Linked DNA regions of Homo sapiens: all the other regions are linked to region 2. Evidence: promoter capture Hi-C in 16 types of primary human blood cells and fetal thymus (Javierre and others, 2016). All regions are on one chromosome and are shown on one strand. The core of a region is centred on a gene start or on the middle of the fragment in contact, and the rest is flanking DNA. Distances in the headings are between cores, read along the strand shown.

Region 1 (5,117 bases), core at 1,915-4,414, 160 kb after region 2:
TTTTTTTTTGTAGAGATGGGGTCTCGCTATGTTGCCCAGGCTAGTCTTGAAGTTCTGGGCTCAAGTGATCCTCCCAGCCTCCCACAGTCCTGGGATTACAGGTGTGAGCCAGTGCTCCAGCTAACATTTATTTTAAAAACAAAATCAGCATGTTTTTTCTCCAGGAGAGGGCCACATGCAGAAGCTGCCCTTCCCCTAAGCAGTGGTGCCCCTAGGGCTTGTCAATGCCGGTGGAGGGACAGCAGGCAAAATGGCCTAGCCCGACAGGGAGGGGTTGGGGAGGACAGACTCAGAACACTCTGGAGAAAACGGAAGCTTGCAGAGTGGTGATGTGGAGACGCCAGGCTTCTCTTACTGCCTGGTCCCCAGCCCACCCTACATCAACTCATAGGAAGCACAAGATGGTTTGTGAATCACTGAAGGGTCATGAGTAACTAGAGGGTATTGCTTCAAAGGAGAAAAGTATTTAAACAGGATGCTTCATATGACTGTTCCCAGAGTGCAAAGGAAAAAGGAAAAACATCAAACTCTTCAGCAAGGTTCCCACACGGGTAGGGGCTGGTTTATGGCTTTGTTTTGCTGTCTTGAGTTCACCCTTGTTTTCATCTCTTTATTTGTCCAGTGTGCAAAATCTTCACACTTCCACCTCCTTAGGAAGGGAGGCAAACCTCGCCCACCCCTTCAGCAGTTGGTCTTGCTTCAACCTGGCAGGCACAGAACAAGTAACCTTCAGCAATCCTTTCCCCGCAGTCTGAATTAGTTGGTGTGGAACACTCCAGGGAGGGCTTTGGCACCTCAGGTCACATGTGTGTTTTCTCTGTTAAGTAGGTCAGTCATGCCTCTTTATTCTTTCTGGATTTCATTGCATGGCTCAGCTGTGAGCAAGATCTACATCATCATATAAATCTAAATAATACATGTTGACTCAACCAAAAACTATGATGCAACTATATTGGGAAGATAGAAGAGGAAGTTTGCATGTGAGTGGTGGGGGTTGGGGGTCAGGAGCAGCACCAGGGAAAGGAAGGAGAGGTGAAGCCATGCTCAATCCTCATTTTCTGTGATAGGAAGAAATTGGATTATACCTAAAACTGAAAAATCAAGAAATAACAGTATCAACACATTATTGAGAAATTTAAGTATAAACACCAGAAGAAATGGCCAGAAGACTTGCAAGGGGTTGCCTCTGGAGAGGAAGATGTAAAGACAGGGAGACCATAGGTAGAGACTGCTGTTTTTCATTATTAGCTTTGTAGTGGTATTTAACTCTTAGAGCTAAACAAATGTGTGATTTTGAAATAAAATAAAATAAAATAAGGCAAAAAACAAAGTCATCCCCCGCCTGAAGGTCATCTTTCAGCTACATAAAACCTTGAAGTTACCCCTTGTCTCTCTCCTGGGTTACATCAAATTCACAGACAGGATGTGTATCCCATTTCTACCTAGAGTGAGTTAAGGGGTAAAGGGGTAAGTAGGCTTGGTCACCCTATTGGGGGGTATCTATTACTGATGGCTCATCAGATCACCTTGGGAAGAGAACACAGTCACAAAGATAATTTGTCGCCATTTGTCTTTTAATGAGCTGGTATCCATTCTGCTCTGAAGAACAGTGACTTGGTTTATAACAATACATAAGCACGAAGTCAGTGCAATATGAGGAGCTTCCTAGCAAGGAGAGTAGAAAAGAGTGACTCCTCTCCAGAGCGTTTTCTAGGGAAAGCTAAATGGCTGCCTAGCAGGGGGTGCTCTGGGAGGGACTCCTGCCTGCCACGGGGGAGGGACTAAACCAGCTGTCCTCCAAATTCTGTCCAATTCTGAGACTTTAAGTTGTTCCAGAAAAAGTTCTTAGACTTTTGCTCATTACACTGCTGCATTTGCAGTCCTTTAACCCACAGGATTGAGGGTGAAAAGATTGGGAATGCAGCAGTATAATGAACAAAAGTAATGAAAACTCACAGATAACTCTGTGCCCCTTCTTAACTGCACTCTTCCTGCACGGTGTGGGACATTTGTCAATTCTGATAAGAGGAAATTGGAAGCTACGACCTGGTATATATTTGTTTTATATGCTGTCATCATTACTGCCTACTTTTAAAAATGGAGAAAAAGAACTGATGTCATCCTGAAAACCAGTATTAAATCTGTCTTCTTTGGCACCACTGTGATTTGTGAAGTCTTTTGATATTCTGGAGATCCCTGTTACACAGGAAATGGCCCAGCTCTGAACTCAGAGAAAGTGTGAAAAGTCCAATACCAGTTTCTTAGTAAGTTAAGCATGTCTGAGCTGTTCTTATAATCTTGAAATACACGAATCACCTCTCCCAGTGAACAGCAGATTAATTGCAGGGTGTGGAGCCAACAGTCAGACCTTGGTCCCGAGCCCAGCTCTGCCACACAAGCTGTGCGACCTTGGGCAAGTTACTCCATCTCTCTGGATATCAGCTTCCTCAACTGAAAACGGGCATAACACCTGGAGCAGTTAGATGCTTTCAGTGTAAGAGAAAATCCAACCACATTAACTTTCACATAAGGAAACAGATGGGCTCACATATCTGGGCGTCTACAGATTGTGAGGTCATCAGGATGGTTGGTCCAGCTTCTCAGTGATGTCCTCAAGGACCCAGGCTCTTTCTGACTCCAAGGCTGCCATCCAGTGTTGGATCTGTTCTAAACAGGGCTGCTCTCAGGGTCACAGGATACAGCCACAGCAATTAGGGCTCCTGGTTTTCCCGTTCACATTTAGCTGAAGACACAAACTGCTCTTCCTGTGGCTTTTTCTCTAGCCCAAGCAAACAGGTTCCCAGAAGCCCAGCAACCTTCCCCTGAATCTCATTGCGCCAGATTGGTTACAAGCTCATTTCTGCACCAATGACTACCAAGGTAATGAGATTACTCTGACTGGCTTAGATTAATCAGGCCCACCCTGTGGGCCTGGTGTCCACATCCCAAATCCCATGGCTGCCACAACAGAGGAGAGTAGAGCAGACAGAGGGAGACCCACCCCAATGCCTGTGAGAACATCCACCACACACGCAAGGCCATTGGGAAGCTTAAACAAGAGGACACAAGTAAAAGCACCTGATAGGGCAGGCAAACAACAAGCCATTTCCTCTCCAAATACATAGTCAGCTCTCCAAAGAAAATACAAATACTTTTCTGAGAAATGAACTGTCTAATTTGTATGCTATGTTGCACCAGGCTGAGCTATTAGAAAGCATCCTGAGAGACTTCGATGGAGTACACCGAGACTTGATCACCCAGAAGCACCAGGAAGCTTCTGTTGGAGGCACAGCGGGGCCAGGTTTAATTAACTACCCAACATAGCATCCGCGGGGGCTTGAAATGCCAATATCAGGGTCTTCCTCTGGGGCCTATGTTGGGCCTCTGTGGCAGGCACATGATCATGGTGGCTGACCCAATATTCTTCCCCAACTTTTTCTCTCTAAGCTCCCTTCCAGGGATGCCACATGCTCCAGCTGTGTGGTCAATGAGACCCAAGAGAAGGCTGCTGTGAGGCTCACAGAGTGTTTTGGTTTTCTTGCTAGAGGTGCTGCCACTCCACCTTTCTCCTTGCTGACTGCAGATGTGATGATTGCAGTGGCTGCAGTGATTGCGAGGCCACAATGGCATGCCCAAAATAAAGCAGGAACACTGGCCTGAAGCCAGCAGATGCCTACCTAATTCAAACTATTATTATGGGAGAAACCAAACCCTTACCTGATCAAGCCATTGTGATGGCCAGGACAATGCACCACTCAGGTCTCCTGCTGCAGGGAGCATAATAGTTGGCCTTGTTTCCACTCCTCTGGGTTCACCACCACATTGATGCTGAGGCCACGCTTTCCACAGGCTGCTCCTGAATCAGTGACGAAGCACAGCCAATGCAGGTTTCTTATTCCTGTGAGACACAGGGATACACCAATGGGCAACACTGCGTCAAGGATTCCCATCAGCCTTGGCCACAACTTTCTTGGACCCGCACTGCAATCTAAGACATTCTACTCCATCTGCCTTCCTCCCCTCTTTTCTTCATACACGTCAGACCAGCACCACGGCCTGAAGGTTCTCTCTGCCTTCTCTGGCCTTTTCCTTTTTATGCTTCTCCAGCACTGCTCCAATAAATTGCTTGCACATCTAATCCTGTCTTGGCATTTTCCTCTCATAGGACCCAAATGAATGCAGCCATTATGGCTTTTTTTTTTTTTTTTTTTTTTGGTTACTTGCGATCACAAGTTTTCCTAACTGAGATGGCTCCAGAAGGCCCCCTATTTTAAGAATAGAAATATTTGTGAGAAAGTAAATCATTAGTTGAGATTTTAAAGTGTCAAAAAAAATTCACACTCTTTCCTTTCAGATTCTGAACTAAATATGAAACAGATCTACAAGTCAGTTTAGGGATCAAAACATCAAATTTATTACTGCAAACCTGGATCTGAAGCCAAAGTGTCTGTCCCATGACTTTCCACTGAATTGATTTTTCCCACCTAAGCTCACTTAGAGCAGCTGGAGACTGCAGGCTCCTACACACTGTCCCCGATCCTGCTCCCTGTCAGGGAGGAGAGCCTTGCAGAAAGTCACCTCCAAGAGAAACAGCCCAAGGAGAGACAGAACAATGCCCAGGGGAGTGGGAATCTTTTAAAGAGCTAACCCCACCCCGTAGAGAAATGTGGGCCAATGGGGCACCTTTTGCCACTGCCCTAATCAACTGAATCACTCTTTTTCCCCCAGGGTGGATCCACTGGGAGGTGCATAGAAAGTAGAAACTTCTCCAGGGCCTTAGACAAGTAGAAATTCCCGTTTCAGGAGCAAGCAAGATTGAGGAGGGGACAGAGAGAGGGAGAGGATGCATCCTCCTTCATAATTATATTTGTGCATTAAATAGTTGTTGGATAAAATGTGGGAGAGAAAATGCTGATGGCTCACCCTGCCCTAAAGCAGCCAACAGTGGTGCAGATAAGACGTGCTCAGAAATGACTTTGATACCAGACACAGTCATAACTTTATAGCTGTGATGCAGACAAAATGCCACTGGCTTTTATTTTGTGTACAGAGATCGCCACTGGCTCCACTCGGTCTTTCCTGTCCTCATTTTCCTGTTGTCCTGGTTTATCGTCCTG
Region 2 (4,489 bases), core at 315-2,814:
AGGAGCGTTTAAGCTATCCTCATTGGGAGGCAGACCAAATGCAGCAAGAGGCAGTTCGGAAATAGGAAGCCTGTGGAAAAAAAAAAGAGCACAGTACCTCTTGGCGCTGGTGGAGAGGAGTTTGGAGTTTTTGCTCATGCTGACTTTACTCTCCTTCTTCTTGGGGGTGTTTGTTTCTTTCTCGGTTTGCTGGTTGGAAGACGAAGATGAGGAGGAGCTGGTGCTGGCCCTCGAATCGTCATCCGACATAGCGAACCCCCCACCCCACCCCGCAAACAGCCCCTGCAGGGGGAGAGAAACAAAACAGAAACACACAAACCATGCAGCCAGTGTAAATAAGGAACTCGGGTGCTGTCAGGAGGGCATTGACCAGGGGCGCACGCGGCCGCCCACCGCCCTCCACTCGCTTTTCAAAGTCTGCAGGCCCATTAAGGCTTTTGCAAATCGGACGCGGCTTGTTTATTTTTGGCCCCAAGTGGGGAACGCTGTGGGAAAACGGTCTGGAGCTAGGAGAGAGGCCCCTCCCTCGCCCCCCGGGGCTCTCCGCTGGGCAGGGAGGGAGTAGCCCGGGAGGCGAAGGAGGGCAGGGCGGGGGGCGCGGGGCGCCACGGCGGGGCAGGGAGGGAAGGTCCCGGCGGCCGGCCGGCCTCGGGGCTGTTTTTGTCCGCTTTCCGGGGGTCGTGAGGGGCCGGTGGCCCGGGTGAGACTGTGGGGCCACGAGCGGAGTTTGGCGAGGTCGGGAAGAGAGGAGGGGCGGGAAGGAGTAAGAGAGGAAGCCGAAACAGGGGGACGGAGGCGGGGAGCGGGTGCCCGGGTGGGGGAAGGGAGAGGCCGGCGGGGGGCAGGGGCGACGAGGCCCGAGGCCCCCCCGCGCCGCGCCCCGACGCCCCTCCCGGCCTGCCTGCCTCTGGCCGCCCTGCTCACAGCTATGCGGCCGGGCGGGGGTCCGGAGCACACGCCCGATCGCCACTCCTGTAGGGGGATAGGGGCTGCGGCGGGGAATGGGGGGGTCGGCCTCCGCAGCGAAGACATAACAATGAGCCCTTCCGCCCCGGAGGGGTTAATCCCCGCGAACCCCCGCCCCTGGGGAAAACGGGGCTCCCCCAACTCCCTCCCACCCCCGCTCCCGGGCCCCTCGGTGGCCAGTGGGGGGCTCTTGGGGCAGCGCTGACAGTTCGAGCCACAATGACCCCCGTCCTCAATGCGGGCGGCCCCCGCACCCCACGCGGCCCGGGGTCCCTGCCCATCCCCCGCGGGCGGGCCCCGGACCCCTGGGGCTCCCCAGCCCCTCTCCGCTCCCCCCCCGCGCCGGCCCCGTGCCCTGCGGCCCGGCGGCCCCGGCGGCGCGAGTCGGGGGAGGCGGCGAGGGGTGTCCCCGAGGCCCGGCGGCGCGGCCGGGGGGCGGCGGGCCGCTGGGGGGATCCCCGTACCTCTCTTTGTGTCTGGCTCCTCCGTGCCGCCGCGGCGGCTGCTGCTGCGGCTGCGGCTGGGCCTGGCCACTCGTGTCTCTCTCTCGCTGGGAGAGAAGCGGAAGTGCAGCAACAGCAACTATTAAACAGGCAATGGCTTCCCCCAGCCACACACGCTCGCACACACACCACTCCTCCGCCGCCGCCTCCTCCTCCTCCTCCTCCTCGCCCTCACCCCTCCCCCACCCGGCCCGGTCCCACCCACCCGCGCTCCCCTCCCCCTGCAACACCTCCTGGGGGTGCGCGAGGAAGACCCAGGAGACCCCAGGAAACCCTGTCCCCCACAGACACCCCCACCCCAGCGCCTCCTCCGGACGCCCGGGAAGGGGGCGAGGGTTGTGAATTTTCTCTTAAGTGGTTTGGGAACCTGGATTCTGGGCGGGAGAGGGGAAGCCGATGGAGATGGGGGGCGCTGGGAGTGATTGGAACTAGATGGAATAGGGGGGTCACGAGAGAAAGTTCTTTCCAATGAGGGCTTTTGGAAAGGAGAGGAGTAGGGAGGTGGCAAATTGGTGAAAACGTTGGTAATCTGGTGGTGGCAAAGACTTTAGAGAATGCAGCGGGTACTCCACCTAAAAAGCGATTAAAGAGAAAAAAAAAATCACACAACAAGGGTTTTCTTTGGACTGACACTTGCTTCTCCTTCTAGCAATTTACCTGCTAGGAGCAGAGGTCAGTTTAGGTATGCCTGTGAGAAAATCCCAAACTAGGAATTTTCTGCTCAGGTCACGCGAGGCACGTGCAGTTTTACAATATTAGATTCTTCCACTCACTTTTTATAGAAAGTGATGTGGTTTTTTATAAGAGTGATACAAAGGTTTTGGTGACAGGTAAAACCAACGTGTAACGGGCTTGCGAATGTGAGACATCACTGGGAATAAGCTATATACTACTGAATTAGACTGGATTTAGAATTTTTTGTGTCATTTTACATTAGATGTAAGGTTTGGTTTTTGGAAATTGGATGCAAAGTTCTGGGGATCGCAGAATCCCCAGATCGCTAAATTGACCAAATTATTTTTAAAATATTAAGCCATTTTTCTCTTTCTTTAGCTACCTATAAATGCTATGCAAATAATATTTTTGAAATGATCAGCAATTCTTCTGAATTGTTCCTTATTTAGCATTTTTGCCAATTTTTTTTTAATATTAAGCCATCAAATTACGATTCAGTTTCTCACCTTTTGTCATTTCAGTTGAAGGGAACTAAAGAGATGTGTGCCATTCAAATACAACAGTGCCACACATACAAGGTCTTGTACATTAAGGAGACAGCCTCAGATTTCCATAGGTCACTCTAAATTATCTCATTCAAACTGCCATCATTTTCCACAGCAACAGTGGCTTCAGTTACCACAGGACAACACAAGATATACAGCCCATGGCATATCCAGTAACCAGGAAAACAAGCATTCTCACGACCCAGCCGAACTCCTTCTAACCATCAACCTGAAATTCCAGCTTTATCAAGACTCATAAAGTAATTGTGCATGCTTCTTGCTCAATCCCTACCAGGAAACCTGTATCTACCAGGAGTTGTCATAGAATAAGAAGTTCAAAAGCTGGAAGAAATCTTCAGGGTCATAATTTCAGCCTCCTGCTTCCAGACAGAACTATTTCTCCACCACTGAAATGCATATAGATTTTGAAAAAATTTCCAGACATAACCTTTCTTAAGTGTTTGGTTTCAGGAGTCCTGGTAGAGTATATAAAAATGATGACATTCTTTGCTATATATTTGAAAAAATTTTTTAAACTTCTGAAAAACTGATTGTATTCTTTTTGTTCTGATGAAAAGATGTAAATTCAGAAGAAAACAATAAGAAGATGAAATAAACTCAGGATGAGGAAAATAATCTAAAAATAGTTATTAAAATTGAAATTTCCTCCTATGAAAATTTGGATTTCTGATACTTAAAAATATATGTCTACATTATGAATACAACCAGTAAAAAAATCATGTGTTATAAAGACAAGAACTAGCAGAGATCACAGGAAAATAAAAGGTTTGATTTGCTGAAGTGATCAGGACAGTAGGTGAATTTTTTCTTTAATATTGGTTTGCATAAATTGCCTACCAGCTATAATAAGAATTCTTTTGTAACAGAACATGATATTTTGTGTTGTGTTACTGATGCTTGGGTTGGACTGATTCCTTGTGAAAGAAATCATGAAATCTAACAGCTCCTCCTATAAGGAAAAGTGATTTCCCAACCACCTGTCTGGAAGGTTTCTTGCCCTCTTTTGTGTACTGTTCCCCCTAATCTCTAATTCCAGCTAGCTTAAGTTAGTGCTTTATCGTTTTGGAATGACCTGATGACAGGGAATAAAAACTTCAAAATGTTTAGAAAAGAATCCAGTCCTCTCAAAAGACTAATCTTTATGTCGAATTATTTTTAAGACCTGTATGCAGCTGTCTTAGGGGAAAAAAAATTCATACACAACTTTCTATCTCTCCTTCTTATTAACTACAAGGCCTAAAAAGCTAAATTGACCTCCCTGAGCCTCAGTTCCCTCATCCATAAAGGGCAGAAATACCTGTGCTCTACTGACTGGCAAGGTCAAATATGTATCTGTAAGTAAGGTGATTTATTAGCTGTTACGCAAAGTAAATTATTAATAATTCCACTCTAGTGGAATTTTCTTAGTTCATGGGTTTGGGGTTATTTGTTGCTTTTATGTTTTTGTTTTTCGTCACCAGGGCAGAAAAGAGGACATGGGGTTTTTATAACTTAGAATTGATGAAAATATAAGAAACCTTCCAGGAGAAACATATACTCAAGGAATCATAGTATTTTATGCCTAGAAGGGGCCTAAGATATCTTCTAGTTCACACTCTTCATGTTACAGATAAAGAAATCAAAGCAAAGAAAGTTATGTTGGCCGGTATGTTGGCCGGGCGTGGTGGCTCATGCCTGTAATCCCAGCACTTTGAGAGGCCAAAGCAGGTGGAACACGAGGTCAGGAGATTGAGACCATCCTGGCCAAGATGGTGAAACCCCGTCTCTACTAAAAATACA
Region 3 (4,822 bases), core at 759-3,258, 180 kb before region 2:
ATCGCTTGAACCCGGGATGCAAAGACTGCAGTGAGCGGAGATGCCACCATTGCACTCCAGCCCGGGTGACAGAGCGAGACTCGGTCTCAAAAAAAAAAAAAAAAAAAAAGAACTACCTGAGGCCGAATATGGTGGCTCACACCTGTAATCCTAGCATTTTGGGAGACCAAGGTGGGTGGATCACTTGAGCTCAGCAATTCGAGACCAGCCTGGGCAACATGGTAAAACCCCATCTCTATAAAAATTACCAAAAAGTTAGCGGAGCGTGGTGGTGTGTGCCTGTAGTCCCAGCTACTTGGGGTGCTGAGGTAGAAGAATCATTTCAACCCAGGAGGTCGACGCTGCAGTAAGCCAAGATCACACCACTGCACTCCAGCCTGGGTGACAAAGTGAGACCCTGTCTCAAAAAAAAAAAAAGAAAGAAAGAGAGAGAGAAGAAGGAAGGAAGGAAGGAAGGAAGGAAGGAAGGAAGGAAGGAGAAAGAAAGGAAGGGGAAAAAACAAATTAAAAACAAAAAGAACTGGCCGGGTGTGGTGGCTCACGCCTGTAATCCCAGCGCTTTGGGAGGCCAAGGCAGGCTGATCACCTGAGGTCAGGTGTTTGAGACCAGCCTGGCCAACATAGTGAAACCCTGTCTCTACTAAAAATACAAAAATTAGCCAGGCGTGGTGGCAGGCACCTGTAATCCCAGCTACTTGGGAGGCTAAAGCAGGAGAATTGCTTCAACCCAGGAGGCAGAGGTTGCAGTGAGCCGAGATCACGCCACTGCACTCCAGTCTGGGCGACAGAGTGAGACTCTGTCTAAAAAAAAAAAAAAGAACTACTTGAGACCAGACGATTTATGGTGAAAGGAGCTTTAATTGACTCACAGTTCTGCAGGCTATCTATACAGGAAGCATGGCTGGAAGGTCTCAGGAAATTTACACAATCGTGACAGAAGACAAAGGAGAAGCAAGCACGTCTTACCATGGAGGACCAGGAGAGGTGGAGAGTGAAGGGGGAGGCACTTTTAAACATCCAGATCTCATGAGAACTCACTCTCACAAGAACAGCCAGGGGAAATTCCGCCCCCATGATCCAATCACCTCCCATCAGGTCCCTACCCCAACACTGGGAATTACAATTCGACACAAGATCTGGTTGGGGACACAGAGCCAAACCACATCAGTGGCCTACCCAATAGCCTTTCCCCAACAGCTTCTTTCTGGAAGAGCCCGCTGCTCTCTACAGAGGCTGAAAAATGTTAGATACTTGCTTTCCCAGGCTCCCTTGAGGCAGGAGACCCAGTCTGGCCAACAGGAACTGAAGGGTGAAGCCCGCTAGAGCCTTCTGGAAAAGATTCCCCCCTAACATACAAGAGGAAGGTCTCTGCCCTTCTTATCTGGAAATGGTACCTCTGCTGTGATGCCTGAACTGTGGCAGCCATCTTGCAACCATGAGAGAAAACATTAGAAACAGGCACAGGATGACAAAGAAGGATCAGAACTCCTAGGTTCCTTCTTTTCTTTTAATTAATTGTGGTAAAATGTACATAACATAAAATTTACCATCTTAACTTTTTTTTTTTTTTTTTTGAGACAGAGTCTCGCTCTGTCGCCCAGGCTGGAGTGCAATGGCGCGATCTCAACTCACTGCAAGCTCCGCCTCTCAGGTTCACACCGTTCTCCTGCCTCAGCCTCCCAAGTAGCTGGGACTACAGGTGCCCACCACTATGCCCACCTAATTTTTTGTATTTTTAGTAGAGATGGGGTTTCACCGTGTTAGCCAGGATGGTCTCCATCTCCTGACCTCATGATCCACCTGCCTCAGCCTCCCAAAGTGCTGGCATTACAGGCATGAGCCACCGCGCCTGGCCCATCTTAACCATTTTTAAGTGTTCACTTCAATAGTGTTAAATACAATCACTTTGTTGTACAACCCATCTCAAGAATTCTTAAAAATTATTATGGGTGCATAACAGTTGTATGTATTTATGGGGTACATGTGTCATTTTGATGCAGGCATATAATGTATAATGATCAAATCAGGGTAATTGGGGTACCCATCACCTCAAGCATATCATTTCTTTGTGTCAGGGACATGCCAGTTCCACTCTTAGTTTAGAATTCTTTTCATCTTGCAGAACTGAAATTCTGAAATAATTCCCCCTTTCCCCCTCCTCCCAAACCCTGGTAACTATTTTTCTACTTTCTGTTTCTATGAATTTGACTACTCAAAGTACTTCACATAAGTAGAATCTTACAGTATTTGTGACTGGCTTATTTCATTTAGCACAATGTCTTCAAGGTGCATCCATGTTGTAGTATGTGTCAGAATATCCTTCCTTTTTGAGGCTCAATAATAGCACATTTTGTTTATTCATTCATCCTTCTATGGAAATCTGGGGTTTTCCCACATTTTGGCTATTATGAATAATGCTGCTATAAATGTGAGTACAAATATCTCTTCGAGAGCCTGCTGTCAATTCTTTGGGGTATATACCCAGAAGTGGAATTGCTGGATCATATGGTAGTTCTATTTTTAATTTTTTGAGGAACTGCCATACTGTCCTCCACAGCAGCTGCACTGACTTACATCTCCAACAGTGCACAGTGGTTCCAACTTCCCCACATCCTCACCAGCACTTATTTTCTGGTGTTTTTTTTTTCTTCCTGATAGTTGCCATCCTAATGGGTGTAAGGTAGGTGCCTGTGTTTTTTATGGCATTTGTGAAGCCACTGAACCAGCCTGAAATTGTCCTGCCTCTAGAAGTCTTGTGTAGGAAAAAAAATTAATAAGCATCCTTATTACAGAACTCCATGTTTTTTAATTTTTATTTTTTTAAAGATAGGGTCTTGCTCTGTTGCCCAGGCCGGAGTGCAGTGGTTACAGTGAGTGCACAGCTCATTGTACAGCCTCAAACCACCAAACCCAGCTAATTCTGAAATATTTTAATAGAGATGAGGGCTCACTATGTTGCACAGGCTGGTCTTGAACTCCTGGCCTCAAGCAATCCTCCCACCTTGGCCTCCCAAAGAGCTGGGATTACAGGGATGAGACACTATGCTCTGCCTGAACTCCCTTTTAGACAGAGCTTAAGCACCTTCTAATTGATGCACTGCTCCTTCAGTAATACAGAAAGTATTAATTCTTTTCATGATTTACTTTCGTTTATCATGCTTTCCATTATATACTGCTTCTTGAACTCTTAGAACTTAGCACAGATTATATACCAGGGTTAAGTCACAAAACAGTGCAACTGCAAATACAAAGGAGTGTTCCTAACAGCTTTATACATAATAACCAAACTGGAAACAATCCAGATGTCCATTCGATAGGCGTATGGATAAACCATGATGCATCTATACAATGGAACATGACTTGCAATAAAAAGGAACAAACTGCCAATACACGAATGACATGAATGAACCTCAAAAACATTATGCTGGGTGAAGAAGCCTGACACAGAAGAGAACTGTTAGTCCAACTCCTGCTGCTATAACAAAATAGGGTAAACTGGGTAATTTATAAAAAAAAGAGGTTTATTGAGCTTATGTTCTGGAGGCTACAAAGTCCAAGATTGAGGGGCCATATCTGGTGAGGGCCTTCTTGCTGCATCATAACAGAAGGGTGAGCAAGCACATAAAACAGAGAGGAAGTCAGGCCAAACTCACCCTTTATAGGAACCCAATCCCGCTATAATCCATTCAAAGAGGCAGAGCCTTCATGGCCTAATCACCTATTTTTTTATTTTATTTATTTTTATTTTTTTTAGATGGAGTCTCGTTCTGTCACCCAGGCTGGAGTGCAGTGGCGCGATCTCGGCTCACCGCAACATCTGCTTCCCGAGTTCAAGTGATTCTCCTGCCTCAGCCTCCCCAGTAGCTGGGATTACAGGCGCCCACCACCACGCCTCACTAATTTTTGTATTTTTAGTAGAGACAGTGTTTCACTATGTTGGCCAGGGTGGTCTCAAACTCCTGACCTCAGGTGATCTGCCTGCCTCAGCCTCCCAAAGTGCTGGCATTACAGGTGTGAGCCATGGCGCCTGGCCTAGTCACTTATTAATTGCACACAGTTATTGAATATCTATGTGTCAGGATTAAAAAAAAAAATCCAATGCAAAATGAGGTTCCATGAAGGGCTGGGCAACTAATTCAGACAGTGTTAGGGGAATTGTATGCACGTGGAGCACAATGGCTACCAATCCCAGCATTTTGAAGGATAATTGCCAGGCACTGCTGTTGTAGACCTTGTATGCCGGAGCTGGCTTGTGAGAGCTCCTGAGGTCTGATTCCTGTTTCCAGGAATTCAGGGCGCAATGGCGTGCGCCTGTAATCCCAGCTACTCAGGAGGCTGAGGCAGGAGGATTGCTTGAACTTGGGAGGCGGAGGTTTCGGTGAACCGAGATTGAGCCATGCACTCCAGCCTAAGCAACAGAGTGAGACTCCATCTCAAAAAATAACAATAATAATAATAATAAGTGACTAAACCATTAGTCCATTCATTGAAAATCTGATCAGATAAAACAGCCTAGGAAAACAGCAGCCATAGTAGAGAACAAAAAGTTGATCAAGAGAATGAAAGTAGGTACTTTCCACTTTGGAAACGACCCTAACTGCATTTAACTGCAGAATTGAGACAGGAAATTAAACAGCTACTGCAGGGGGAGAAAACAGATGAGCATTTATAAGCAAAGCAACAAAATAATAAGGGGAAAACTGCTGGAGTTAAGGTGTTCAGAGCAATATGAGACAATAGAAAAGAAAAAAAAATACAGAACTGACTTCAGAGACTTTAAGAAGATCATATTTGACTCTGCAGACTCCAGTAGAAAAAATAG

The links. The method cuts DNA at HindIII sites, captures the fragments that hold promoters and counts their contacts. A CHiCAGO score of 5 or more calls a contact.
Region 1: a contact is called between a fragment that was not itself captured here and the fragment with the promoter of UBE2E1 in region 2, in 1 of 17 cell types (monocytes). The highest score is 5.3, in monocytes.
Region 3: a contact is called between a fragment that was not itself captured here and the fragment with the promoter of UBE2E1 in region 2, in 1 of 17 cell types (neutrophils). The highest score is 5.1, in neutrophils.

The regions. Positions count from the first base shown.
Region 1 is chr3:23,646,316-23,651,432 of GRCh38, reverse strand. LOC105376993 (a long non-coding RNA gene) reads right to left here and starts at 4,611. Exons shown (of 3, transcript XR_940651.3): 1 at 4,427-4,611; 2 at 3,718-3,898. The HindIII fragment of the contact is 225 bases long and covers 3,052-3,276 here.
Region 2 is chr3:23,803,030-23,807,518 of GRCh38, reverse strand. UBE2E1 (ubiquitin conjugating enzyme E2 E1) reads right to left here and starts at 1,564. Exons shown (of 6, transcript NM_003341.5): 1 at 1,431-1,564; 2 at 98-282. The coding sequence starts at 249. UBE2E1-AS1 (UBE2E1 antisense RNA 1) reads left to right here and starts at 614. Exons shown (of 2, transcript NR_046652.1): 1 at 614-700; 2 at 2,805-3,495. RefSeq lists an enhancer at 49-138 and silencers at 439-618, 819-1,118, 1,309-1,438, 1,519-1,628. The HindIII fragment of the contact is 12,732 bases long and covers 1-4,489 here.
Region 3 is chr3:23,983,680-23,988,501 of GRCh38, reverse strand. No RefSeq gene overlaps it. Among named protein-coding and RNA genes, the nearest start is that of NR1D2, 41 kb to the right of the region's middle. The HindIII fragment of the contact is 6,327 bases long and covers 1-4,822 here.